7 separate regions of the Homo sapiens genome follow, and all the other regions are linked to region 1. The links are contacts of gene promoters, found by promoter capture Hi-C in blood cells and fetal thymus (Javierre and others, 2016). All regions are on one chromosome and are shown on one strand. Each heading gives the region's core, a stretch centred on a gene start or on the middle of the fragment in contact. The rest is flanking DNA. Distances are from core to core; before and after follow the strand shown. Region 1 holds the start of CASC11 (cancer susceptibility 11). Region 2 has its middle 8.6 kb from the start of CCDC26. Region 3 overlaps CCDC26 (CCDC26 long non-coding RNA). Region 4 overlaps CCDC26 (CCDC26 long non-coding RNA). Region 5 overlaps CCDC26 (CCDC26 long non-coding RNA). Region 6 overlaps CCDC26 (CCDC26 long non-coding RNA). Region 7 overlaps CCDC26 (CCDC26 long non-coding RNA).

What was found. Contacts are between HindIII fragments. The CHiCAGO score rates a contact against its expected background, and 5 or more counts as called.
Region 2: a contact is called between a fragment that was not itself captured here and the fragment with the promoter of CASC11 in region 1, in 9 of 17 cell types (erythroblasts, megakaryocytes, neutrophils and 6 more). The highest score is 31.7, in erythroblasts.
Region 3: a fragment that was not itself captured here is called in contact with the fragment with the promoter of CASC11 in region 1 in 5 of 17 cell types (monocytes, neutrophils, fetal thymus and 2 more); the score reaches 14.1 in monocytes.
Region 4: a fragment that was not itself captured here is called in contact with the fragment with the promoter of CASC11 in region 1 in 1 of 17 cell types (neutrophils); the score reaches 8.9 in neutrophils.
Region 5: a contact is called between a fragment that was not itself captured here and the fragment with the promoter of CASC11 in region 1, in 3 of 17 cell types (neutrophils, erythroblasts and megakaryocytes). The highest score is 7.2, in neutrophils.
Region 6: a fragment that was not itself captured here is called in contact with the fragment with the promoter of CASC11 in region 1 in 1 of 17 cell types (neutrophils); the score reaches 6.4 in neutrophils.
Region 7: a contact is called between a fragment that was not itself captured here and the fragment with the promoter of CASC11 in region 1, in 4 of 17 cell types (megakaryocytes, erythroblasts, neutrophils and 1 more). The highest score is 28.6, in megakaryocytes.

What each region holds. Positions count from the first base shown.
Region 1 is chr8:127,732,184-127,736,052 of GRCh38, forward strand. CASC11 (cancer susceptibility 11) reads right to left here and starts at 1,784. Exons shown (of 4, transcript NR_117102.1): 1 at 1,642-1,784. It also overlaps a transcript of MYC not described here. RefSeq lists an enhancer at 453-954, a cis regulatory region at 534-3,276 and silencers at 1,859-1,978, 3,764-3,869. The HindIII fragment of the contact is 10,989 bases long and covers 1,562-3,869 here.
Region 2 is chr8:129,686,922-129,690,790 of GRCh38, forward strand. No RefSeq gene overlaps it. Among named protein-coding and RNA genes, the nearest start is that of CCDC26, 8.6 kb to the left of the region's middle. RefSeq lists an enhancer at 1,439-3,651 and a cis regulatory region at 2,439-2,773. The HindIII fragment of the contact is 1,486 bases long and covers 1,318-2,803 here.
Region 3 is chr8:129,667,880-129,671,748 of GRCh38, forward strand. All of the region lies in intron 1 of CCDC26 (CCDC26 long non-coding RNA), which reads right to left. Among named protein-coding and RNA genes, the nearest start is that of CCDC26, 10 kb to the right of the region's middle. The HindIII fragment of the contact is 6,843 bases long and covers 1-3,869 here.
Region 4 is chr8:129,643,719-129,647,587 of GRCh38, forward strand. All of the region lies in intron 1 of CCDC26 (CCDC26 long non-coding RNA), which reads right to left. Among named protein-coding and RNA genes, the nearest start is that of CCDC26, 35 kb to the right of the region's middle. The HindIII fragment of the contact is 9,204 bases long and covers 1-3,869 here.
Region 5 is chr8:129,623,789-129,627,657 of GRCh38, forward strand. The region is part of intron 1 of CCDC26 (CCDC26 long non-coding RNA); the gene reads right to left. Among named protein-coding and RNA genes, the nearest start is that of CCDC26, 55 kb to the right of the region's middle. The HindIII fragment of the contact is 2,410 bases long and covers 580-2,989 here.
Region 6 is chr8:129,603,615-129,607,483 of GRCh38, forward strand. The region is part of intron 1 of CCDC26 (CCDC26 long non-coding RNA); the gene reads right to left. Among named protein-coding and RNA genes, the nearest start is that of CCDC26, 75 kb to the right of the region's middle. RefSeq lists silencers at 95-295, 132-320. The HindIII fragment of the contact is 6,206 bases long and covers 1-3,869 here.
Region 7 is chr8:129,583,526-129,587,394 of GRCh38, forward strand. All of the region lies in intron 1 of CCDC26 (CCDC26 long non-coding RNA), which reads right to left. Among named protein-coding and RNA genes, the nearest start is that of CCDC26, 95 kb to the right of the region's middle. RefSeq lists enhancers at 1-272, 3,199-3,869. The HindIII fragment of the contact is 5,873 bases long and covers 1-3,869 here.

The DNA.
Region 1 (3,869 bases), core at 534-3,033:
CCTAGACTACAGGGTGAGACCCTGTCTTAAAAAAAAAATTAAAGAAGAAAAAACTCTCTTTTCTTTTCTTTCTTTCTTCTTCTTCTTTTCTTTTTTTTTTTTTCTTTTTTTTTTTTTAGAGATGGCACGTCACCACATTGCCCAGGCTGTTGTCGAACTCCTGGCCTCAAACGATGCTCCCACTTGAGCCTCCCAAAGTGCTGGGACTACAAGCATAAGCCACCACACACGGCCTTTTCCTTTCTTTTTCTATTTCTCAATGGATTTTTCCAATGGACACGTATCACTTTGGTAGTTATACATGATACTAGTTGTAATCTCAGCCATTTTTCAACCCAGCAAATGTCTATTCTAGGTCAAATATGTCTCAAAAATTACTAAAAGAAAATCAGTTATGTCCTTTAACCTGGCTGAGGTCTGGCTTTGTTTTCTCTCATGTAAAAATGGAGATGGCACAAAACAACTCCAAGCTGTTACTTGAAAGTAACACCTCAGGTGATGTCACCAGCCTGAGGGAGAGTGAGGTTAAGTTCTGAACCCACAGGCATTATATCTGCCTGGGGTTCACATGCCCTACACTGGACTGGCATAATTTGAGAGTCAGATCCGAAGATGTGGTATATCCGCCATCTTTAGCAACTTTCAAAAACTACCCTATGAGGTCAAGCTGGACCTACTTTTGGTTTTGCCATTGTTGTTTGTTTGTTGTTGAGGGTTTTCTTTGAGGGGCGGGGAGTGCATGCCCCTGTGGAGAGCACTCATTTAGCTTCAATTAGAGTAATGCCAAAAGTGCCAGATTCCTGGGAAATCAGCCTACAAGGCTCCTGCGGGAAGGAACCTCCACTGCCAGAAGTCCTTAGGGCATCTAAGTGATCAGACACCGTCAGGGATTCTTTGCCCCGTAAAAACCTACTTGACCAGGGACACGTGCCAGGTAAATTTCCTTCACATTTACTTCAACCTTATTGCATACTCATTTTAGTATTAAAACCTTTAATAAAATGCTCCTATTCCTTCACACTTTTTTTCTATGAGATCTCAAATACCCCTTCTTGCTATTAAAAAAAATCACTTATTATTCACCAGCCCAATATTTTAAAAGTAAAAATAATAAGCCAAGGCCAGGAGCGATGACTCGCACTTGTATTCCCAGCAGTTTCAGAGGCAAAGGCCGAAGGATCGCTTTAACCGAGGAGTTTGAGACCAGCCTGGGCAACATGACCAGACTGCCTCTCTACAAAAAGTTTAAAAAATTAACCGGGTGTGGTGGTGCACTGCACTCCCAGCTACTGGGCTGGGGTATCAGGCTGAGGTAGGAGGTTTGCTTTGAGCCCGGGGGGATCGAGGCTGCAGTGAGCTTTGATTGTGCCACTGCACTCCAGCCTGGGTGACAGAAGGAGACCCTGTCTCAAAAATAATAAGAATAATAATTAATAATAATAGGCCAAACCAAATACCCATCACCTTCTGCTGTGCCTCCCCTTTCCCCAATAAATCCAGTGTCTTGCTTTCAAATTTTGTGGTTAAAAAAGATGATGAGTTTCTAAGACGTGGGGGCTAAAGCTTGTTTGGCCGTTTTAGGGTTTGTTGGAATTTTTTTTTCGTCTATGTACTTGTGAATTATTTCACGTTTGCCATTACCGGTTCTCCATAGGGTGATGTTCATTAGCAGTGGTGATAGGTTAATTTTCACCATCTCTTATGCGGTTGAATAGTCACCTCTGAACCACTTTTTCCTCCAGTAACTCCTCTTTCTTCGGACCTTCTGCAGCCAACCTGAAAGAATAACAAGGAGGTGGCTGGAAACTTGTTTTAAGGAACCGCCTGTCCTTCCCCCGCTGGAAACCTTGCACCTCGGACGCTCCTGCTCCTGCCCCCACCTGACCCCCGCCCTCGTTGACATCCAGGCGCGATGATCTCTGCTGCCAGTAGAGGGCACACTTACTTTACTTTCGCAAACCTGAACGCGGGTGCTGCCCAGAGAGGGGGCGGAGGGAAAGACGCTTTGCAGCAAAATCCAGCATAGCGATTGGTTGCTCCCCGCGTTTGCGGCAAAGGCCTGGAGGCAGGAGTAATTTGCAATCCTTAAAGCTGAATTGTGCAGTGCATCGGATTTGGAAGCTACTATATTCACTTAACACTTGAACGCTGAGCTGCAAACTCAACGGGTAATAACCCATCTTGAACAGCGTACATGCTATACACGCACCCCTTTCCCCCGAATTGTTTTCTCTTTTGGAGGTGGTGGAGGGAGAGAAAAGTTTACTTAAAATGCCTTTGGGTGAGGGACCAAGGATGAGAAGAATGTTTTTTGTTTTTCATGCCGTGGAATAACACAAAATAAAAAATCCCGAGGGAATATACATTATATATTAAATATAGATCATTTCAGGGAGCAAACAAATCATGTGTGGGGCTGGGCAACTAGCTAAGTCGAAGCGTAAATAAAATGTGAATACACGTTTGCGGGTTACATACAGTGCACTTTCACTAGTATTCAGAAAAAATTGTGAGTCAGTGAACTAGGAAATTAATGCCTGGAAGGCAGCCAAATTTTAATTAGCTCAAGACTCCCCCCCCCCCAAAAAAAGGCACGGAAGTAATACTCCTCTCCTCTTCTTTGATCAGAATCGATGCATTTTTTGTGCATGACCGCATTTCCAATAATAAAAGGGGAAAGAGGACCTGGAAAGGAATTAAACGTCCGGTTTGTCCGGGGAGGAAAGAGTTAACGGTTTTTTTCACAAGGGTCTCTGCTGACTCCCCCGGCTCGGTCCACAAGCTCTCCACTTGCCCCTTTTAGGAAGTCCGGTCCCGCGGTTCGGGTACCCCCTGCCCCTCCCATATTCTCCCGTCTAGCACCTTTGATTTCTCCCAAACCCGGCAGCCCGAGACTGTTGCAAACCGGCGCCACAGGGCGCAAAGGGGATTTGTCTCTTCTGAAACCTGGCTGAGAAATTGGGAACTCCGTGTGGGAGGCGTGGGGGTGGGACGGTGGGGTACAGACTGGCAGAGAGCAGGCAACCTCCCTCTCGCCCTAGCCCAGCTCTGGAACAGGCAGACACATCTCAGGGCTAAACAGACGCCTCCCGCACGGGGCCCCACGGAAGCCTGAGCAGGCGGGGCAGGAGGGGCGGTATCTGCTGCTTTGGCAGCAAATTGGGGGACTCAGTCTGGGTGGAAGGTATCCAATCCAGATAGCTGTGCATACATAATGCATAATACATGACTCCCCCCAACAAATGCAATGGGAGTTTATTCATAACGCGCTCTCCAAGTATACGTGGCAATGCGTTGCTGGGTTATTTTAATCATTCTAGGCATCGTTTTCCTCCTTATGCCTCTATCATTCCTCCCTATCTACACTAACATCCCACGCTCTGAACGCGCGCCCATTAATACCCTTCTTTCCTCCACTCTCCCTGGGACTCTTGATCAAAGCGCGGCCCTTTCCCCAGCCTTAGCGAGGCGCCCTGCAGCCTGGTACGCGCGTGGCGTGGCGGTGGGCGCGCAGTGCGTTCTCGGTGTGGAGGGCAGCTGTTCCGCCTGCGATGATTTATACTCACAGGACAAGGATGCGGTTTGTCAAACAGTACTGCTACGGAGGAGCAGCAGAGAAAGGGAGAGGGTTTGAGAGGGAGCAAAAGAAAATGGTAGGCGCGCGTAGTTAATTCATGCGGCTCTCTTACTCTGTTTACATCCTAGAGCTAGAGTGCTCGGCTGCCCGGCTGAGTCTCCTCCCCACCTTCCCCACCCTCCCCACCCTCCCCATAAGCGCCCCTCCCGGGTTCCCAAAGCAGAGGGCGTGGGGGAAAAGAAAAAAGATCCTCTCTCGCTAATCTCCGCCCACCGGCCCTTTATAATGCGAG
Region 2 (3,869 bases), core at 811-3,310, 2.0 Mb after region 1:
ATGAAATACATCTGCTGACATCACAAAGGGATTCTTGTCTAACTTCCATCTCTCTAATTGAAGTTTAAGCAAAATGTTTCTTGACCTAATCCAAGTAAAAGAGCATGATTGTCCTCTATTTCATGTTATTCTCACAGTTACAATATGTGCTTACATCTGCTGGTGCAAAATATGATTAACTTTTTTTTTCTAAAACCCTAGGGCTAGGAGGAGCTTGGAAATTCTATCTTTTACTTCCCCTTGCCTTCAGACCGATCCCTGTATGTCAACAAAACATGAAAACACCCTGTGAAATCCATTAGTAGCCTCACTTTATATACTAGGAAATCGAGGCAGGGTGATGGATCTGAAGTCCCTCAAGCAGATTGTGGCTAGAGCAAGAAGGGAAGCATGGACCTGGGTCTCTCAGAGGAATCCCTGTCTTCCCATACAGCCTTTTTCCATAGCATCTATGCACTAACTATAAGCTATCGACCCTATAAAGGTCCACGGACATATGAGAACATTATCTTCTTCCAGGCATTCAGTTTCATTTATCCGACATTTCCTGCACTATCCTAAAGATATAGAGGCAGGTAGATTAATTCACTATGCCCTAGAAGTCCTGGTCAAGGTCTCAGAATCAAGAACTACCTCTCTAACAGACAGGCATTGAGCACCCTCTGTAGGCAAGGCAGAGTCTTGCAAGCTGGCACCAATGATTGTCCTGCATCTGCCTGGTCCACATACTCCCTGGACGTCTGTGTGACAGGCTCTGTAGAAGACAAGCATAAAGCAGACCTGAGGGTGAGTCCCAGCCCAGCTCTGCCACTCACCAGCGGTGTGGCCATGGGCAGGTTACCTCCATGGACTAGACCTGGGCTTTCTCATCTTTAAGTTGGTGTTAATAACAAGTTGGGGTTAAATGCTGTCCCTCACTCAATACCTGTGTCCACATCTTAATCCTTAGGACCTCTGAACGTGACCATATTTGATAAAAAGGTCTTGGCAGATGTAATTATGTAAAGGTTCTTGAGATGAGATCATCCTATATTATCTAGGTTGTCTCTAAATCCAGTGACAAATGTCCTTATGACCGCAGAAAGACAGACACCAGGAGAAGAAGAAAAGTCCACGCAAAGAAAGATGAAGGTAGAGGTAGGAGTTATCCAGCCACAAGCCACAGAATGCCTGGAACCTCCCTAAGCTGAAAGAGGCTAAGACAAAGTCCCCTCTAGAGCCATCAGAGTGAGTGTGGCCCTGCCAGCACCTTGAGTTTGTACTCTGGCCTCCAGGACTCTAAGCAAAAAAATTTCTGGGGGATTTTTTAAGCCATGAAGCTTTGTGGTCATTTGTTAAAACAGCCCTAGGAAACTAGTATCCACCTATTTCATGGTATGTTAAGCATGGAACCTATTCCAGAGTAAGTACTTCATCATATTATTGGTGTTATTCTTGCCCTTGCCATGCTCCAAGTTAACTTAAGACCCCTTTTATTCTGACGATACCTCCTGGAGACCACCCACCCATCCAAAGCTCCAGAATCAAGGTTTTAGTATTTTGATTTGGGGTTGCCTATTTGTTAGGAGGAGGGGCTGCACATACCTATTTCCTATTTTTCAAAATAATAGCCCCAAATTTTGATTCAAGTGAAGCTGGATAGACCCTGAAGGGTGTATTTGTTAAAAATTTCACAGCTCATTCTGACACAAAACTGGTACTGATATTCAACCAATGCACACTGACCAGCATCCTCTCTGATTTGTCTGGGACTTGGTCCTTTGGTGAAATATTTGCCCTCTCTCCGCACACCAGCACTGCTCTCCCATCACCACTGACCTGGGGAAAATCAGCCAAGCTGACTGGTAGGCCCAGAACACAAAGCTGGGGACAAAGCTAGTCCAGAGGGCTTAAAATGTGTTGGGGAAGCCAGGTTTGCATGAACATGTCCCGGGGAACAGAACAGGCATGGCAGCATGGAATGACAGGAAGGACCTGGGCACAGGCCCCTGGTGGCCCAAACTCCTCCATACAGGACTGTTCTTTTTATCTGTTGTATCAACTGGGAATATGCATACAATTCTTTTTGGAAAAAAAAGTTCTAAAGCATTCTGATGATTTTTTAAATAATTAAAAATTTAAAACCACTGATAAGACATACTTATTTTCTAGGCAAGAAACTGGGTTCCAAAGAGATTAAGTGACATGCCCAGGATCACACAGTGAGGAACTGATGGCCAAGACCAGAATCTTGAACTCTGGGTCTTATCCAGGGCCCGTCAACTCCACCAGTAGCAGCCTCAGCCACCAGCCCCACCACTGAGGCCTCAAAGCACTGATTTCTCAGGCTCCAGTGCCTCTCTCTAGGTGCAGTAGCCCCCACATCCCTCAGAAGGTCCATGCCTGGCAGGGAAGAGGATGCCTGGGCAATGCTGTCAGCCTCTCCTTTGGGAATGGCCTTGGTCTCGGTCTGCACCAAGGCAGCCCAGTTTCTAGGCCATTGCTGCCAGAGGCGGTGTCGTTGCTTGGGAAATCTTCCTGCTGATCAGAACTTCCTCTCCACTGTACCTTTTTCCCTCCTTAGAGCCAACATCCAGGCCTTATCTCAGATGAGGAAATGTTTAGGGCACAGGACCGTTGAGATATTTCTCAGAACACAAATTACGAGGCACATGTTTTCACAGAGAAGAAAATAAGGAGAAGACACACAGTGATCACCATGCTGGTTCTGAGAACAAGCCCTTATCTGCTCTGACCCAGCTCTGGACTCACAGGCTGGTGTCAGCCTCACAACTGGTCAATGAGGCAGCCAGGAAAAGTCCAAAGCTTTAGGTGGGGGAGTCCATCGCCCAAAGGCAAAGGTGCAAAAAATAAACACTTAAGAGAGAGCTGCAGCCTCAAAGCCCTGGGCTGTACCAGGCCGACATACCACAGCAAAAAGCCTATGAAGTCCTACAAAATGTAAGCACCTCACCAAGCTGCTAGCATGGAGGGATTGCACATTAAAACTCTGGTCACGTTACAAATGTCTGTGCAGGGTCTTCCCGCCAGGAAACCCCAATGCAGTGAGGAGGATACTATGCATGTTTAAAAAACTAAGCAGTCATAAGATTACAGTAATCATTCCAAGCAGGACAAAAAGAAAGAAAAGATGAGGTGATACAAAGTACTACATGGTCAATGAATGACCAGATAAATGATGGAATCAATAATTACTAGAAGAGTTCAGAGGGAAAAGTTCAGGTAGGAAGGACTAGCTTGGCTTAATAATATCTATCATTCATTAAATACCTACTATCTGCCAGAATTTGAGAATTTTTCTTTCAATGACTTCACAAGGTCTGTGTTAAGTATCTGCACTTCACCAAGGGGAAGGCTGAAATGTGGAGAAGCCAGGTGACCTCCCACAGTAACTCAGCTGTAGGAACCAGGGTGAGTTCTGTCTCGTTCTCCTGAACAATTACCTGAGTTTCCTTAGCCATAGAGGTCCTGAGAAATTGCTTGAGTTTCCTTAGCAATAGAGGACAAGGAGAGCTTGGATAAAGCCAAAAGGAAAGAGAGGGATCATTGCAGGCAGGTGAAAGGAGCAGCTGAAATCACAGAGGCAGGAAAGTCAAAAGCACATGTGCGGCTGTTAACAGAGATGAATTTAGCTAGGGTGGAGGTTTCTGGAATGGATAGAACTTATTGAGTACTTACTGTGCTAAGCAAAGTTCTAAGAACTTTATATAGATAATCTCATTTAACCCTCACAATAACCCTGTGAGGTATGGAGTATTATTATTCCCAAAGTATGGATAAGGAAGTCAAAGCATAGAGAGGTTAAGTAACTTGCCCAAGATCACATAGCTGATAGGCAGCAGAGGTAAGACTTGAACATAGTCAGGATT
Region 3 (3,869 bases), core at 710-3,209, 1.9 Mb after region 1:
TCATCAAGCAGATAAAGAACATCTACGAAAAACCTACTCTAACATCATACATAATAAGACTAAGTGTTTAATGTGGAAAAATAAAAATCCCTTAACATCTACCTAACACTATTCACAAAAATTAACTTGAAATGAATTATATACCTAAATATAACCACTAAAATTATAAAGAACATAGGAGAGAGAATCTGTGGCATTGATTGGGTTAGGCAAAGATAGCTTATGCGCAAGAAAATGAAGCATAAAGAAAAACCTAATACGTTAGATTCCATTAATATTTAAAAACTTCCATATTTCAAAGACATCATTGAGAAAATACCTGGAAAATCCTCGAAGAAAACTTCACAACACATATATCTGATGATGAATTTGTATTCAGAATATAGAAGGAAATTGCAACTCAGTAATAAGCAAAATAGCTAAACCAAAAAAAGAACAAAACATTTGAATAAGCATTTCACAAAGTCTACAAATGGCCAATAAGTATTTTTTAATGCCCAAAAGTATTAGTTATCATGGAAAAGCAAATTATGATCACAATAAGATACTACTACACATCTGATATGGTTTGGCTGTGTCCCCACCCAAATCTTATCTTGAATTGTAGCTCCCATAATTCCCACATGTTGAAGGAAGGACCTGATGGGAGATCATTCAATCATGGGGGTGGCCCCCCCATACTGTTCTCATGAGAGTGAGTAAGTCTCATGAGATCTGATGGTTTTATAAGGGATTTCCCCTTTCACTTGGCTCTCATTCTCTCTCTTGTCTGCTGCCATGTAAGACGTGCCTTTTGCTTTCCACCATAACTGTGAGGCCTTCCCAGCCACATGGAACTGTGAGTCCATTAAACCTCTTTTTCTTTATAAATTGCCCAGTTTCGGGTATGTCTTTATCAGCAGCATGAGAACAGACTAATACAGTAAATTGGTACCAGGTAGTGGGGCACTGTTGTAAAGATACCTAAAAATGTGGAAGCGACTTTGGAACTGGGTAACAGGCAGAGGGGTTGGAACAGTCTCAAGGGCTCAGAAGACAGGAAGATGTGGGAAAGTTTGGAACTTCCTAGAGACTTGTATGGTTTTGACCAAAATGCTGATAATGATATGGACAATTAAATCCAGGCTGAGGTGGTCTCACATGGAGATGAGGAACTTGTTGGGAACTGGAATAAAGGTGACTCTTGCTATGTTTTAGCAGAGAGACTAGTGGACTTTTATCCCTGCCCTAGAGATTTGTGAAACTTTGAACTTGAGGGAGATGATTTAGAGTATCTGGCAGAAGAAATTTCTAAGCAGCAAAGCATTCAAGAGGTGACTTGGGTGCTGTTAAAGGCAACCAGTTTTAGAAGGGAAACACAGCAGAAAGGTTTGGAAAATTTGCAGCCCGATGATGTGATAGAAAAGAAAAAGCTATTTTCTGAGGAGAAATTCAAGCCAGCTGCAGAAATTTGCATACGTAACAAGGAGCCAAATGTTAATCACCAAGACAATGGGGAAAATATCTCAACAGCATGTCAGAGACCTATGTGGAAATCCCTCCCATTACAGGGCTGGAGGCCTAGGAGGAAAAAATGGTTTCATGGGTCAGGCCCAGGGTCCCCCTGCTGTGTGCAGCCCAGGGACTTGATGCCCTGCATCCCAGCCACTCTAGCCATGGCTAAAAGGAGCCATGATACAACTCAGGCCATGGCTTCAGATGGTGCAAGGCCCAAGCCTTGGCAGTTTCCATGTGGTGTTGAGCCTGCAGGTGCACAGAAGTCAAGAACTGGGGTTTGGGAACCTCCGCCTAGATTTCAGAGGATGTATGGAATTGCCTGGATGTCCAAGCAGAAGTTTGCCCCAGGGTCAGAGCCCTCATGGAGAACCTCTGCTAGGGCAATGTGGAAGGGAAATGTGGGGTTGAAGCCCCCACACAGAGTGCCCAGTGGAGCTCTGAGAAGAGGGCCACAATCCTCCAGACCCCAGAATGGTAGATCCACTGCAGCATGTGCTGCAGACACTCAACACCAGCCCGTGAAGGAAGCTGGGAGGCAGGCTGTATCTTGCAAAGCCACAGGCATGGAGCATGGAGCTGCCCAAGGATGTAAACACCTACCTCTTGCATCAGTGTGCCCTGGATATGAGACATGGAGTCAAAGGAGATCATTTTGGAACTTTAAGATTTGACTGCCCCACTGGATTTCAGACTTGCACGAAGGCTTTAGCCCTTTCATTTTGGCCCATTTCTCCCATTTGGAATGGATGTATTTATCCAATGCCTGTACCCTCCATTGTACTTGGGAAGTAACTAACTTGCTCTTCATTTTACAGGCTTATAGGTGGAAGGGACTTGTCTTGTCTCAGATGAGACTTTGGACCGTGGACTTCTGAGTTAATGCTGAAATGAGTTAGGACTTTGGGGGACTGATGGAAAGGCATGATTGGTTTTGAAATGTGAAGACATGAGATTTAGGAGGGGCTGGGGCAGAATGACATGGTTTGGCTCTGTGTCCCCACCCAAATCTCATCTTGAATTGTAGCTCCCATAATTCCCACATGTTGTGGGAGGGACCAGTTGGGAGATAATTGAATCATGGGGACAGTTCCTCCCTACTGTTCTCGTGGTAGTGAATAAGTCTCATGAGATCTGACGGTTTTATAAGGGATTTCCCTTTTCACTTGGCTCTCATTCTTTCTTGCCTGCTGCCACGTAAGATGTGCCTTTTGCCTTCCACCAAGATTATGAGGCCTTCCCAGCCACATGGAACTATGAGTCCATTAAACCCCTTTTACTTTATAAATTACCCAGTCTTGGGTATGTATTTATCAGCAGCATGAAAATGGACTAATACAACATCCATTAGAACGTCTAAAATTGGGCTAGGCATGGTGGTGCATGCCTGTAGTCCCAGCTTCTTGGGAGGCTGTAGTAGGAGTTCAAGGCTGCAGTGAGATATGATTACTTCACTATACTCCAGCCTGGGTGACAGAGCAAGAATCCATCTCTTTAAAAAAAAAATTTATCTAAAATTAACAAGGCTGACAATATGAGTGCTGGCAAGGAAGTAACTGATATTCTTGCACATTGTTGGTGAGAATGTAAAATGATACAAACAGTTTGGAGAACTGCTTGGCACTTTCTTGTAAAGCTAAACATACACTTATCATATAATCTGGCAGTTTCATCATATAATCTAGCAGTTTTATTCTTAGATATTTACCTAAGAAAAATGAAAACATGTCCACACAAAGACTTCTGCCTTGGAGTTAATATCACCTCTATTTATAATAGGCAAAAACTGAAAAGAACCCAAATGTCCATCAATACATGAATGAATCAACACATAGCAATAACAAGGAATAAACTATTGCAACAAAATGGAATAATCTCCAAAACAGTATTCTAAGCAAGAGAAGCCAAACATGAAAGAATTTGTACTGTATGATTTTATTAATATGAATTGCCAACAAAGATAGATCTAATCTAAGGTGACAGAAAACAGATCAGCCATTGCCTAGGGCTGGAATTGAGTAGGAAGGGGAATAAGGAAATATTTTACAGTATGGAAATGTTCTATATCTCAGTTGTCAAAATGGTTTTATGGGCATATATATTTTTCAAAACTCATTGAACTGTACCTTTTAAAATAGAAGCATTTTCTTGCTTTAAAACTTTCCCTCAATAAAGTCAATTTAAAATAAAAAGAAGGGAAAGAAAGCTAGGTTTGGTTAAGCACTGAGCACAGGGTCTACAAATTTCCAATCCCTTAAGAGTTAGGGAGAACTGTAAGATCAGCACAGAAGCCCAAAACTGGTTGAAAGTTCAGCTACAAAAGAGGTTCTCTAAACAGTTCGATGAATTTAAACTGAGATGTAATACTGAGAAGT
Region 4 (3,869 bases), core at 905-3,404, 1.9 Mb after region 1:
ATAAAATCATACATGGAGCAACAGATGGGAGAGTGGTCCTGAGTAATTTCCTCACCTCCAGCTGGTGTTTACACTTGCCCTTCTAGGCCAGTGGATGTGTGATGTACAATAGTATCCAATAGCTTAGAAGATCAAGAAGGTCAGATGAAAGTGAAGATGTAGGTCTGAGTGAATTTCCATGCTCACTAGCTTGTCCTTGTGCATCCTTGGAGAACCTGGCTAGATCAAACACAGTTTACCCCTACAACCAAACTTTAGGGTTCACTGGAGAAGCTAATCAATCTCTCATCATGTTGCAGATCCAGATGACTCCCCTACTCCCCAGCTCTTTCCCAAAAATCACTCTATTGCTAAAGCAGGCCATGCAAGTTAGGTATCTTTCTCCCTAATTGCAGCTCAAGTTAAGTATCTTTCTCCCTAATTGCAGCTGCAACAAAGGCAATTTTGACAGAATGAACTAAAAATGAGAAATTTAGGAATTGTGGAAATGAGCAAAACTCTTAAGTGGCTGTCATTTTTTAAAATTTTTAATTTAAAAAATCCCAGAGCATAACAGGGGTGGGGGTAGGAGAAGATTGAGCAACAGCTGTCATCTGGAAATCTGATATAGGGTAATGTAATCAGGTTGGATTTGCAAAGTCCATTTAGTTTGCAACAGGAAATAGAACTTTTCAAGCCCACATCACTAAGTTCAGGAATATGTCATCTTCTGGATGGGAACCGAGGCTTCCAGCCACAATCACTTCATTCAGTGAGCTTTGATATAGATCTGATTATTTAGGGGGTTTCTTTGGTGGGCCAGAGCAGGCAGGCCATCCTCCAAAGTAGACATTGACCCCCGCCTCCCCCAACTCCCAGCTAGCCCATACCATGTAATCATGCTAGGAAAGTACAGGGATGATGCAATGAATTCCAACAGGATAGGGGAGGAACAAGAAAGAAAAACACGCAAACCCCAAATCTTTTCTAAGTCAGTACAGCAACTGGAGGATTTAACATGAAATTCCTATCCATGGGACCATGGCCAAACCAGGAGACAGCATAATTACAGGAGATAAGACTCGGAATAGAATAAATGAGAAGCATCATCACAAAGCTACAGATTTCACAGGAAATGAAGATGACACACACAGTGGAGTTTCTATGATCAGGAGAATCCGTCAGGATTAAAGTATGTATACTTGTAAGGATCTTCATTACCATAATATTTAAATTTATATAAATATATGCATATGAATTCATGTTCGCTAGTTCTATTTAATTCAACAAACATGTAGATTGAGCCTACTAAGTGGAAGGCATTGAGGTAAGCCCTGGGAATAGAACAAGGTTTTTCAGCCTCAGCACTATTGACATTTTGAATCAGATAATTCTTTCTTGGGGGCAGGGTGGGAGTGATCACTGTCCTATGCATTATAGGATTTTTAGCAGAATCCCTGGCCTCAACACACTAAATAGCAACACTCCCCCACAAGTTGAGACAAACAAAACTATCTACAGAAATTACTAAATGTCCCCCATAAGTGGGGGACACAAAATCATCACTGAGAACCACTGGAGTAGAGAAGTAGTTAAGACAATTATAACAGTTTAATGTGTTTACTCTGGGATTAAACGATCTGTGTTTGCTTCCTGACTCTGCCACATATTGGCTTTGTAACCCAGGGAAAGTCATTTAATATATTTCTAATTTCAGTATCCTCATACATAAAATGGAAATAACATGACAGAAAGCCAAGTAGAATTGTTATGAGGATTAATGGGAAGATTAGCATGAGGGCTACTAGGCAATAGAGACCAATCTTTCTGTCTTTTGACACCATACCAGGGCCAGTTTAAGAATGCAATAAATGGTAGCTGCTATTTCCAATGAGCTCACAGTGTAATGCAAAACAATAACAGAAAGTACACAGTTAATTTTCTTTATTATTTTATTATACTTTAAGTTCTAGGGTACATGTGCACAACATGCAGGTTTGTTACATAGGTATACATGTGCCATGTTAGTTTGCTGCACCCATCAACTTGTCATTTACATTAGGTATTTCTCCTAATGCTATCCCTCCCCCAGCCCCCCGCAAAAGGCCCTGGTGTATGATGTTGCCCACCCTGTGTCCATGTGTTCTTGTTGTTCAACTCCCACCTATGAGTGAGAACATGCAGTGTTTGATTTTCTATCCCTGTGATAGTTTGCTGAGAATGATGGTTTCCAACTTCATCCATGTCCTTGCAAAGGACATAAACTCATCCTTTTTTATGGCTGCATAGTATTCCATGGTGTATATGTGCCACATTTTGTTTATCCAGTCTATCACTGATGGACATTTGAGTTGGTTCCAGGTCTTTGCTATTGTGGATAGTGCCACAATAAACATACATGTGCATGTGTCTTTATAGTAGAATGATTTATAATCCTTTGGGTATATACCCAGTAATGGGATAGCGGAGTCAAATGGTATTTCTAGTTCTAGGTCCTTGAGGAATTGCCACACTGTCTTCCACAATGGTTGAACTAATTTACACTCCCACCAACAGTGTAAAAGCGTTCCTATTTCTTCACTTCCTCTCAAGCATCTGTTGTTTCCTGACTTTTTAATGATCGCCATTCTAACTGGAATGAGATGCTATCTCATTGTGGTTTTGATTTGCATTTCTCTGATGACCAGTGATGATGAGCATTTTTTCATATGTCTGTTGGCTGCATAAATGTCTTCTTCACGGAATTGGAAAAAACTAATTTAAAGTTCATATGGAACCAAAAAAGAGCCCACATAGCCAAGACAATCCTAAGCAAAAAGAACAAAGCTGGAGGCATCAAGCTACCTGACTTTGAACTATACTACAAGGCTACAGTAACCAAAACAGTGTGGTACTGGTACACAACAGATATATAGACAAGTAGAACAGAACAGAGGCCTCAGAAATAACACCACACATCTACAACCACCTGATCTTTGACAAACCTGACAAAAACAAGCACTGGGGAAAGGATTCCCTATTTAATAAATGGTGCTGGGAAAACTGGCTATCCATACGTAGAAAGCTGAAACTGGATCCCTTCCTTACACCATATACAAAAATTAACTCAAGATGGATTAAAGCCTTAAATTTAAGACCTAACACCATAAAAATCCTAGAAGAAAACCTAGGCAATACCATTCAGGACATAGGCAAGGGCAAAGACTTCATGAGTTAAACACCAAAAGTATTGGGGGAACCCGCCCCCGGTATTTCAACGTAGGTTCTTTCTATTTTCCATAAGTGTTGGCTGGCTGAGAAATAAAGAGAGACAGTATAAAGAGAGGAATTTTACAGCTGGGCCACCAGGGGTGACATCACATATCAGTAGGACCGTGATGTCCCTGAGTCTCAGACCAGCAAGTTTTTTATTAAGGTTTTCAAAAAGGGAGGGGGTATAAGAACAGAGAGTAGGTACAAAGATCACATGCTTCAAGGAGCAAAAAGCAGAACCACTAATAAGGGCCTAACAAAGATCACATGCTTCTGAGGGAACAGGACAAAGGGCAAAAGCAGAACCACTGATAAGGGTCCAACAAAGATCACAGGGCAAAGGGCAAAAGCAGAACCACTGATAAGGGTCTATGTTCAGCAGTGCATGTATTGTCTTGATAAACGTCTTAAACAACAGAAAACAGAGTTCAAGAGCAGAGAACCAGTCTGACCACAAATTTACCATGGCGGAGCTTTCCCAACCCTAGTAAGCCTGCAGGAGATCAGGGCTTATCTCAGTCCTTATCTCAACTGCACAAGACAGACATTCCCAGAGTGGCTGTTTATAGACCTCCCTCCAGGAATGCATTCCTTTCCCAGGGTATTAATATTAATATTCCTTGCTAGGAAAAGAATTT
Region 5 (3,869 bases), core at 535-3,034, 1.9 Mb after region 1:
AAGTTATTTGAGACATCTCCAAACTGCTTTTCACAGTGGCTAAATCAATTTACATTCCCACCAGTGGTGTACAAGTGTTCCCTTTTCTCTGCAGTCTCCCAAGCATCTGGGTTTGTTTGTTTTCTTTTGGTTTTTGTTTTTTGGTCTTTCTAATTATAGCCATTCTGACTTGTGTGAGATGGTCTCTCATGGTTTTAATTTGCATTTCTCCAATGACTAGTGATGTTGAGCATTTTTTTGTGTTCTTGGCCATTTGTATGTCTTCTTTTGAGAAGTATGTGTTCATGTCCTTTGCCCATTTTTCAATGGGGTTGCTTTTTACTTGTTCAATTGTTTAAGTTCCAAATATTAGACCTTTGTCAGATGTCAAGTTTGTGAATATTTTCTCCTATTATGTAGGTTGCCTGTTTACTCTGTTGATAGTTTTTTGTTTTTTGTTCTTTGGGGGTTTTTTTGCTATAAAGAAGCTCTTTAGTTTAATTAGGCCTCACTTGTCAATTTTTGTTTTTGTTGCAATGGCTTTTGAGGACTTAGTCATAAATTCTTTCCCAAGGCTGATGTCCAGCATGGTGTTTTCTAAGCTTTCCTTCAGGATTCTTGCAGTTCGAGGTCTTACATTTAAATCTTTAATTCGTCTTTTGTTAAATTTTGTATATGGTGAAAGGGGGAGTCCTTTCCCCACTGCTTATTTTTGCCAATTTTGCTGAAGGTCAGATGGCTGTAGGTGTACAGATTTATTTCTGGCTTGTCTATTCTGTTCCATTGGTCTATCCATCTGTTTTTATACCAGTACTGTGCTGCTTTGGTTACTGTTGCCTTTACCATAGTTTGAAGTGGGATAATGTGATGCCCTCAACTTTATTCTTTTTGCTTAGGATTGCTTTGCTCTTTTTTGGTTCATATGAATGTTACAATAGTTTCTTCTAATTCTGTGAAAAATGACATTTGGTAGTTTGATAGAAACAGTGTTGAATCTGTAGATTGCTTTGGGCAGTATAGCCATTTAATGATAGGGAGTCTAACAATGTTTTTCCATTTGTTTCTGTCATCTACAATTTCTTTCATCAGTGTTATGTAGTTCTTGTAGAGAACTTTCACTTTCTTGGCTGGATGTATTTCTAATATTTTTGCAGCTATTTTAAATGGGATTGCATTCTTGATTTGGCACTCAGCTTGAAAGTAATTGATGTATAGAAATGCTACTGACTTTTGTACGTTAATTTTGTACCCCAAAACTTTACTGAAGTTGTTTATCAGTTCCAGGAGCTTCTTGGCAGAGTCTGTAGGGTTTTTTCTGGTATTGCATTGTATCATCAGTAGAGAGAGCTCAACTTCTTCTTTTCCTATTTGGATGCCTTTTATTTCTTTTTCTTGCCTGATTGCTCTGGCTGGGACTTCCACATTCCTTGATTAGGATTTTAATTTCATCCTGCATCCAAAATCTTACCCATATTGATAACTTAAGGAGTACTGAGGAGTATTGGTAATTTTAAGTAGGCAAGTCTTTGCCCTTGCAAAATGCATTTAATCTGTTCTTTATATGGGTATATGTGACCCACATATAGCAACAATATTATGAAGAATCTGAGGTTTAGAGTGGTTAATTAACCTGCCTAAGACCACAGCCAATAAGAGACAGAATTAGAAATTGAATGCATATCTGTTTCACTTCCCTATACTTCTATACTTTTCTGGATTCCCCAGTATTGTATTATATATCAAACAGATTGTATTTGCAAATATAAGCAAAAGAACACAGTCTTTCTTTTTCTTTTATTTTTTTTTTTTTTGAGACAGAGTCTCACTCTGTTGTCCAGGCTGCAGTGCTGTGGCACGATCTCAGCTCACTGCAACTTCCACCTCCCAGGTTCAAGCGATTCTCCTGCCTCAGCCTCCCTAGTAGCTGCGATTACAGGCACACACCACCATACCCAGCTGATTTTTGTATTTTTAATAGAGATGGGGTTTCACCGTGTTGGCCTGGCTGGTCTTGAACTCCTGACCTGAGGTGATCCACCCACCTCGGCCTCCCAAAGTGCTGGGATTACAGGTGTGAGCCACTGCACCCAGCCCAGTCTGTCTTTTTCTAATCTGTCTAATCCTGGCAGTCAAGCTGCAAGCAGGAGCTGCAGTCATCTGACGGCTCAACTCGGTCTGGAAGATCCTCTTCCAAGGTTCACTCACATGGAAAGCAGTTGGTGCTTGTTGTCAGCCAGGTTGGCTGAGTTTTCCCCCATGTCAGCTCTTATCCTCCTGGGCCTTCTGCTGCATTTGGCCTCTCCTTCAGAACAACCTGGACTTCTTTACATGGCAGCTGTATTCCAATAGAGTAAGAGCTAGACAACCTATCAACATGTGAGAAAGAGCACCCAAGACAGAGGCCACAGTCTTTTTATAACCCAATATTGGAGGTGAGATCCCATCACTTTTGCAGTGCTGAATTCATTGCAAGTGAGTCGATAAGTCCATCCTACACTCAAGAGGAGGAGATTATACAGGATGATGAATATTAAGAGGTGAAGATTACTGGGCACTTCCTCAAGGCTGTCTACCAGAAATATATAATTACAAATCAACAAAAACCAGATATAAAATTTAACAAAAAATAAGACAAGAAAGATGCAGGTGCTTTAGAGAAGAATAAACTGGAATGGTTAATACACATGAAACAATACCTAACCTCACTCACACTTAAAGAAATGCACTTTAAAACATTAAGATGCCAGTTTTCCCTTATAATATCAGCAAATATTAAAAAGTCTGATAGCACCCAGTATTGATGAGCATGTGAGGAAACAGCTATTTGCTGTAGAGGCTATTTACTGTCAGAAGACAATTTGGCAATATCTCTCAAAAATAATAATGTACATACCATTTAACCAAGAAATACTGCTTCCTGAAATATACTATACAGATATGTTTGCAAATAAATACACATAATAATATTCACTGATGCAAATTTTAATAGACAATTACTGAAAACAAAAGAAGCTTGGTGAAATACATCACAGAAAGCTATGCAGCTGTTTAGAAGAGAGAGTCAGATTTTTACAGGCTGATAATAAAGAGCTCTTTGTTACTTTATTAAATGAAGCATAAGGGACAGAGGATAATTTATAATATGATTTATTTTGAAAAGAAGAAAACATATGGACATTTATATATACAGAAGTCTTTCTGAAGGATATGTAAGAAAAATGTAACAGCACTTCATTCTGGAGAGAAGAATAATCATTTTTACAAGGGTTAATTTTTTAACAGGATGAATTTAATTATTATATAATTTAAAATACTAATTGGAAAAATTGAAGTCTTAACTATAGTCGATATACTAAAAAAAAAAAAAACCCAGCAGGCTGACAATGAACCTGATTTGACAGAGAAGCATCAGCCGAGGCTTAGGGAAAGGGAAAGAAAGGAAAAGAATACTGATTTAGTCATCACCCACTAAGCTCCAGGCACTTTTGCTTATGTCACCTCGCACCACCTACAGTACACTGTAACCGCAGAGAATGACACACTGGCCTCTGACTACCCTACAAAATTCCCTTCCCTGCAAAAGTTGATTCCTTGGCCTGGACTATCCTTCCTTACTCTTTCACATGCTGAAGTCAAAGAAGATGCTATAAATGTCTCCCTAGAGATTACAACTTCGAGTTTATCCTTTTTTATAAAAAATTGGATTTCTAGTTTGTAATTAAAAAAAAAAAACACTGTGAATTCCAAACCAGCCTAGGTGAACCCCTGCTCAGTCATCTCTGTTCCCAAAGGACACTCTGAGAGCCTTGGCTCTCCATGGATGGAAAGCAGGACTCATGAGTTCAGCTGACCTCAGTCTCTAGGGCTATGGTCTTACTTACAGGTATGCA
Region 6 (3,869 bases), core at 549-3,048, 1.9 Mb after region 1:
TGACATTGAGTGTCTGTGGCTTTTCCAGGCACACAGTCCAAGCTGTCAATGGATCTACCATTCTGGGGTCTAGAGGATGGTGGCCCTCTTCTCACAGCTCCACTAGGCAGTGCCCCACTGGGGACTCTGTGTGGGAGCTCCAACCTCACATTTCCCTTCCACACTGCCCTAGCAGAGGTTCTCTGTGAGGGCTCCACCACTGCAGCAGACTTCTGCCTGGACATCCAGGCATTTCCATACATCTTCTGAAATCTAGGAGGAAGTTCCCAAACCTCAATTCTTTACTTCTGTGCACCCACAGGCTCAACACCACATGGAAGCCACCAAGGCTTGGGGCTTGCACTCTCTGAAGTAATGGCCCAAACTGTATGTACCTCGGCTCCTTTTAGCCACAGCTGGAGGTGAAACAGCTGGGATGCAGGACACCATGCCCCAAGGCTGCACAGAGCAGGGTGGCCCTGGGCATGGCCCAGTAAACCACTTTTCCCTCTGTGGCCTGTAATGGGAGGGGCTGCTGTGAAGGTCTCTGACATGCCCTGGAGACATTTTCCCCATTGTCTTGGTGATGAACATTTGGCTCCCCATTACCTATGCAAATTTCCTCAGCTGGCTTGAATTTCTCCCCAGAAAATCTGGTTTTCTTTTCTATCACATTATCAGGTGGCAAATTTTCCAAACTTTTAAGCTCTGCTTCCTCTTGAATGCTTTCCCACTTAGAAATTTCTTCCTCCAGATATCCTAAATCATCTATCTCAAGTTCAAAGTTCCACAGATCTCTAGGGCAAGGTCAAAATGCCACCAGTCTCTTTTCTAAAGCATCACAAGTGTCACCTTTATTCCAGTCCCCAACAAGTTTCTCATCTCCATCTGAGCCTGGGCTAAGATGAGGTGAGATGAGATGAGGAACTTGTTGGGAACTGAGACCATCTCAGCCTGGACTTCATTGTCCATATCACTATCAGCATTTTGGTCAAAGCCATTCAACAAGTCTCTAGGAAGTTCCAAACTTTTCCACATTTTCCTGTCTTCTTCTGAGCCCTCCAAACTGTTCCAACCTCTGCCTGTTACCCAGTTCCAAAGTCGCTTCCACATTTTCAGGTATCTTTACAGGAGTGCCCCTCTACTCCTGGTACCAACTTACTGTATTAGCCCATTCTCACACTGCTATAAATAACTGTCCAAGACTGGGTAATTTAAAAAGGAAAGAAGTTTACTTGACTCACAGTTCTGCATGGTTGGGGAGGCCTCAGGAAACTTACAATCATAGCAGAGGGGGAAGCAAACACATCCCTCTACACAAGGCAGCAGGAGACACAAGAGCCAAGCAAGGGGGAAAAGCCCCTTATAAAACCACCAAATCTCATGATAACTCACTCACTATCATGAGAACATCAGCATGGAGGTAACTGCCCCATGATTCAATTACCTCCATCAGGTCCCTCCCACGATATGTGGGGATTATGGAAACTACAATTCAAGATGAGATTTGGGTGGGGACACAGCTAAACCATATCAAATAACAATATTAAACATCTTATCATGTGCTTATTGGCTATTTGTAGATCTTTTTTTAAAGAAATGTCTATTCAAGTCCTTTGCTTATTTTTTAATTGAGTTGTTTGGGGTTTTCTTTGTTTTATCTATATCTTCTTGGGTCAGTTTCAGTAGGTTGTGACTTTCTAGGAATTTGTCAATTTCATGCAAATTGTATAATTTATTGGAATACAATACTTTTTTATTTCTAGAAGGTCAAAAGTAATATCTTCTCTTTTATTTCTTTTTTTTATATACTTTAAGTTTTAGGTTACATGTGCACAACGTGCAGGTTTGTTACCTATGTATACATGTGCCATATTGGTGTGCTGCACCCATTAACTCATCATTTAGCATTAGGTATATCTTCTAATGCTATCCCTCCCCTCTCCCCCAACCCCACAACAGTCTGCAGTGTGTGATGTTCCCCTCCCTGTGTTCATGTGTTCTCATTGTTCAATTCCCACCTATAAGTGAGAACATGCGGTGTTTGGTTTTTTGTCCTTGCGATAGTTTGCTGAGAATGATGGTTTCCAGCTTCATCCATGTCCCTACAAAGGACATGAACTCATCATTTTTTATGGCTGCATAGTATTCCATGGTGTATATGTGCCACATTTTCTTAATCCAGCCTATCATTGTTGGACATTTGGCTTGGTTCCAAGTCTTTGCTATTGTGAGTAGTGCCGCAATAAACATAGATGTGCATGTGTCTTTATAGCAGCATGATTTATAGTCCTTTGGGTATATACCCAGCAATGGAATGGCTGGGTCAAATGGTATTTCTAGTTCTAGATCCCTGAGGAATCGCCACACCAACTTCCACAATGGTTGAACTAGTTTACAGTCCCACCAACAGTGTAAAAGTGTTCCTATTTCTCCACATCCTCTCCAGCACCTGTTGTTTCCTGACTTTTTAATGATTGCCATTCTAACTGGTGTGAGATGGTATCTCATTGTGGTTTTGATTTGCATTTCTCTGATGGCCAGTGATGGTGAGCATTTTTTCATGTGTTTTTTGGCTGCATAAATGTCTTCTTTTGAGAAGTGTCTGTTCATATCCTTTGCCCACTTTTTGATGGGGTTGTTTGTTTTTTTCTTGTAAATTTGTTTGAGTACATTGTAGATTCTGGATATTAGCCCTTTGTCAGATGAGTAGGTTGCAAAAATTTTCTCCCATTCTGTAGGTTGCCTGTTCACTCTGACGGTGGTTTCTCTTTTATTTCTAATTCTAGTAATTTGAATTTTCACTAATTTTTTGGTCAATTTAGCTAAATATTTATTAATTCTGTTAATGTGTTTAAAGAACTAGCTACTCTGTTGTTTGGTTTCTATAAATTTGTGAGTTTCTCAAATATAAGAAAATCTTTTATTGATTTCTAATTTCATTTCATTACAGTTAAGGAAGACAGGTTTTATTATTTCTATACTTTCAAATTTATTGAGGTTTGTTTTATAGCCTGCCATAGGATGCATCCTTCACTTGAAAAGAAGATATATTCTGCTGTTGTTAGGTGGAGTGCTCTACAGGATTCTGTGCAGTCTAGCGGGTTTATCATGTTGTTAAATTCTTCACTTTCTTTGTTGATCTTCTGCTACTTGTTCCATCCATTACCAAAAGTGTGATATGGAAGTCCCCAACTATTGTTTTTAATTATCTATTTCTTCTTTCATTTCTGTCAGATTATACTTCATGTATTTTGCTGCTTTCTTGTTAGATACATATATGTTTATAATGGTTACATCTTTCTGATGAATTGAACTTTTGATTATCATAAAATATCCCTCTATATCTCCAGTAAAGTTTTTTGTTTTAAGGTCTATTTTGTCTGATGAACACACCAGCTCTCTTGTCATCACTGTGTACATGACATATCTTTTTTCATCCATTTACTTTCCATTTATTTTATTTATTCTTTTGATTTTTCAGAAAGAGTCTATTCTGTTGCCCAGGCAGAAGTGCGATGGTGTGATCTTGGCCCACTGCAGTCTCAACCACCTGGGCTCAAGCAATCCTCCCACCTCAGCCCCTGAGTAGCTGGGACTACAAGCAAGTGTGCCACCATGCCTGGCTAATTTTTTTTTTTTTTTTTTTTTTTTTTTTTTTGGTAGAGACAGGGTCACCCTATGTTGCCCAGCTGGTCTCAAACTCCTAGGTTCAAGCAATCCTCCTGTCCAGGCTCCCAAAGTGCTGGAATTATAGGCACAAGCCACTGCATCCAGCCTTCAATTTATTCTTGTCTTTAAATCTAAAGTGTATCTCCTATAGACAGCATATACTGGGAACTTTTTTTATCCAGTCTCACAGTGTTTGCTTTTAATTGGATCATTTATTT
Region 7 (3,869 bases), core at 579-3,078, 1.9 Mb after region 1:
CTACACCGGACCCTGGTGCCATTAGCTCATGCTCTAGCTCCCTGCACTGGCCACCCATACTGCTTTATGAAATGCAATCTCTTTTTAAAGATAATGACACAGTAAGTGTGTTATGACTTCAGTGATACAGTAAGTTAGGCAAATTCTTTGAAAGCTATCAGCTCATTTTGAGCAGGGCCACCAGCCTCTGGTAGAGAGAAGTTTGTTGATCTGAAGTCATAAAACCAAGGGGTAAAGGACATGCTGAACCAGACGATAAACACCGTCATGGCGGGTGTCCCTCCCACTGCCAAATTCCAACAAATCATAGCAAGAAGATGAGGTTACATAGCAGAAATGCATGGAAATCAGCCTGATCAGAATCATTGACCTTTGAATTTTAGAGCAAAACAGTCATTTAGAGATTGGCCAGTCTTCATGTCAACCTGTTCAACCTTTCAACACAGATTCAAATCCAATTGGCAGATGTGTTTTGTTTAAACTGCACAGCATTAAAAAAATTTATGTAGCTGCCAATATTTATAATAAATCAGGATATCTCGCATGCACAGAATTGTATTTCTTGCTTCTCTTTTAAAATATGAATATCTATCAACACCACATCTGCATTCCAGTATGGCTGGAGCTAAATAGTAGTTGTCCCTATGGACTGGGCAGGTGGTCACCATATCACCCCAACTCCTGCCACTCACTATTACTTATTTCTGGCCCATTTCACTTATTATAGCTCTAACGTTGTCAAGCCCTCACTTGACCTAATATCCTCTTATACAAAAAGTAGAAAACTGAGGCCTAAATGAAGTGAAATAATGGAATCTTGAGTCAAAGATCAGTCACCCCCAGAAATGTGTGAACCTAAAAATAAAAACCTCACAGGAATTAAATTTGCATAGGCCAGTCCCTCCTCCTAACATAACCTGGTGGCCAAGCCTCCATAATACTCTGGGGCCAGGCTCTTGGTTATGTTTTAGAATTATTTTTAATTTAACTTTTGTTCTTGTTCACTCAGTGTCCCACAGTAAGGTGCACTGGGGGCTAAAGGCTTGAAAAAGCAAACAGAGTTAGGGGCCCTAAGTTTCTTCTCAAGAGTTCAGATGGAAATCATAAAACCACCACACCAGGTTCCAGATGAGTTCCACTGGAAGCTGGCAAAAACCTCCCGCCCAGCCTGGTTAATGGCACTTAAGCACTGGATTGTTTGACTGCCACTCTCCCTTACTGGAATTGTTAGAATAATCTCTCTCTCTCTCTCTCCCTCCCTGCCTCCCGTTTTTTTTTTTTCTTTTTTTTCTTTGAGACAGAATTTCACTGTCTGGAGTGCAGCAGCACGATCTCGGCTCACTGCAACCTCCGCCTCCCAGGTTCAAGCGATTCTCCTGCTTCAGCCTCCCAAGTAGCTGGGATTACAGGTGCCCACCACCACGCCCAGCCAGAACAACCACTCTTTAGGACCTGGACATACCTGCCACTCTCTGTGCCCTTTCCACTTGGTAAATGCCACCATCTCCCTCTCAGACATGCAAAGATCCAGGCTATTCTGTTATTTGCCCTTCCTCACCCTCCGCAGCAAAGCTCTTGCTCTTATTGCATCGTTTTCTGCCTTTCCCAGGGGAATTTCCATCATTAGGCTTTGCTATAACAGGGGAAGAGTTCCATGAATGAACAAGAAGGTAAGGAAATGATTTAGAAGATCAGAATGCTTTCCTACTCTTTTATTCATCCATTCATTGTTTCAGTATTGAGCGCCTGCTGGGTTGGGCGTTTAGAAGATCTAAATGTAACTAACATACCTGCCCTGCTCTCAGGGAGCTCACAAAGTCAAATCCTGATTATACAGTGTAACATAAGTGATGATTGAGGGGACTTTCTTGGGCCTCAGATTCCTCATTTGTAACAGAAGAACCCCACTTACTTCCACATAGTCTGGCTGTGAAGAACAAATGAGAAAAATGGATGTTAACATTCTTTATAAATGACAAAGCACAATGTTAGCACCTGATCGCGATCTCATATTAGGTGTGCTCAAGGATTTGAACCATTGTGGAGAGGTCCTTTAAGTAAATAAATGTGGAAGTAGGGAAATCTCCTTACAGCAAAAAGCTAACAAACGAACGTGGAAAGGATGATGGAAATAGAAAACAACAATTTGGCAAACTTCAAAATAGTAATCAATTCAGGATAAGAATCATCAATGATGATAAAACTAGTAGCTTAAAGTATGAGGAGTAACAGAAATTTCACATAATAAAGTACCTCTTAAGATACTTATTAATTACAAAGGGAAAGGTTGGAAAACGCCTTTACGGCAGCATTTACTGTAACTGGCAGACACCATCTTCACCAAATAAAGTCAACATCACTAATAATGAGGGAAATTGACATCATGTGCAGCCTGATAATAATGAATGAAAAAGGACATAACATCACTTCTATGATATTCCAGCTGAAAATGTATGACCTGAATCTAACCATGAGGAGATACTGGAGAATCTCAGATTAAGAAACATTCTGCAAAAATCTCACCAGTACTTTTCTAAAATGTCATTGTCATAAAAGACAGAAAACTGTTCCAGATTTAAAAAGATGAGACACTAATAAAGTCAATGTGTGATCCAGTGTTTTCTTTTACCATATAGCATAAAACTGGAACAATTGGTGAAATTCAACTGAGGTCTGTAGATTAGGTAATAGTTTTGTATTAATGTTAATTTCCCAGTTTTGATGATTAACAATAGTGCTTATGTAACAAAATGCATTTTCAGAAAGTACACATCGAAGTCTTTAGGGATAAAGAACATTATGTCTATACATTTCAAATAATTCAGGAAAAAATATGGCATTATATGAAAATATATGGTATCATATAAAAATATATGGCATATATAATAGATGGTACATATATATTAAATTAAGTAAAGTTGGTAAATTATTAACACGAGGGAAACTCCTTGTACTATTCTGCCAATGTTTTAAAAAGTCTGAAATTTTGTCAAAATAAAAAGTTAAAAGCAGTAGCAAGAAAGAGGTACAATGTGGATAACTTTAATCAGCCCAGAACCAACACAAAGCATAGCGAAGAGGTTTGGCTGCACTTTCCAGAAACTCCAGATGCCAAACATGTTTCACCCATTTTTTTATCCCTGTCTTCCAGGCTTCTGATATTCATGACAAGATGGGAGATGATACTAAATGGGCCCATTTCTTCAGTGATGGTTTCCCATAACTAAGCAGTGTCGTTAGAACCACCTATATTATTGCCGAGCCAGCTGGAGTCTTAAAAGTTTATTTCCTAGAACACATAGTCCACATAATCTCTTCCATTACTGCTGGAAGGCAGCAGGGTACCTCTCCTGTAGTGCCTCATGCCACCACAAATAGATCATGCAGAAATCAGGTGGCAATGGGGTCTCTCCTGCTATTTGCACCATATGATGGCTGTTTGTTGTGCTGGACTCTTCATTTGCCACTTGAGCCACGGTGTTCAGCTCCTATCCGCCCTGGAAAAAAACACTGGCAAAGTCAGCTGGGCCAGGATGCTTTGCATTTTGAGGAATCATGAAATGGCCAGTCCCAGCTAATGGATAAAAGGTAACTCACCATCCCCACAGTGACCCAAGGACTATACTGGACAATAGAGACAAAAATGCATCCCCTCCTCCCAACTGGTGAAGACAATCTAGAGACAGTGCAAGAGTGCTCCCTTCTGCCCAGAGCTCAAATTGCCCTAACTTCACACAGTTTCACCTCAAGAGAGTTTGAGATGAACCCTTCTGCTTCTGGAGCACACATCTTAAATGCTATCCCATAGTCGCCCCTTAAGCCTGCACTTAAGATTTCACCTTTATGATCTCATTTCATCTCTTCAACAA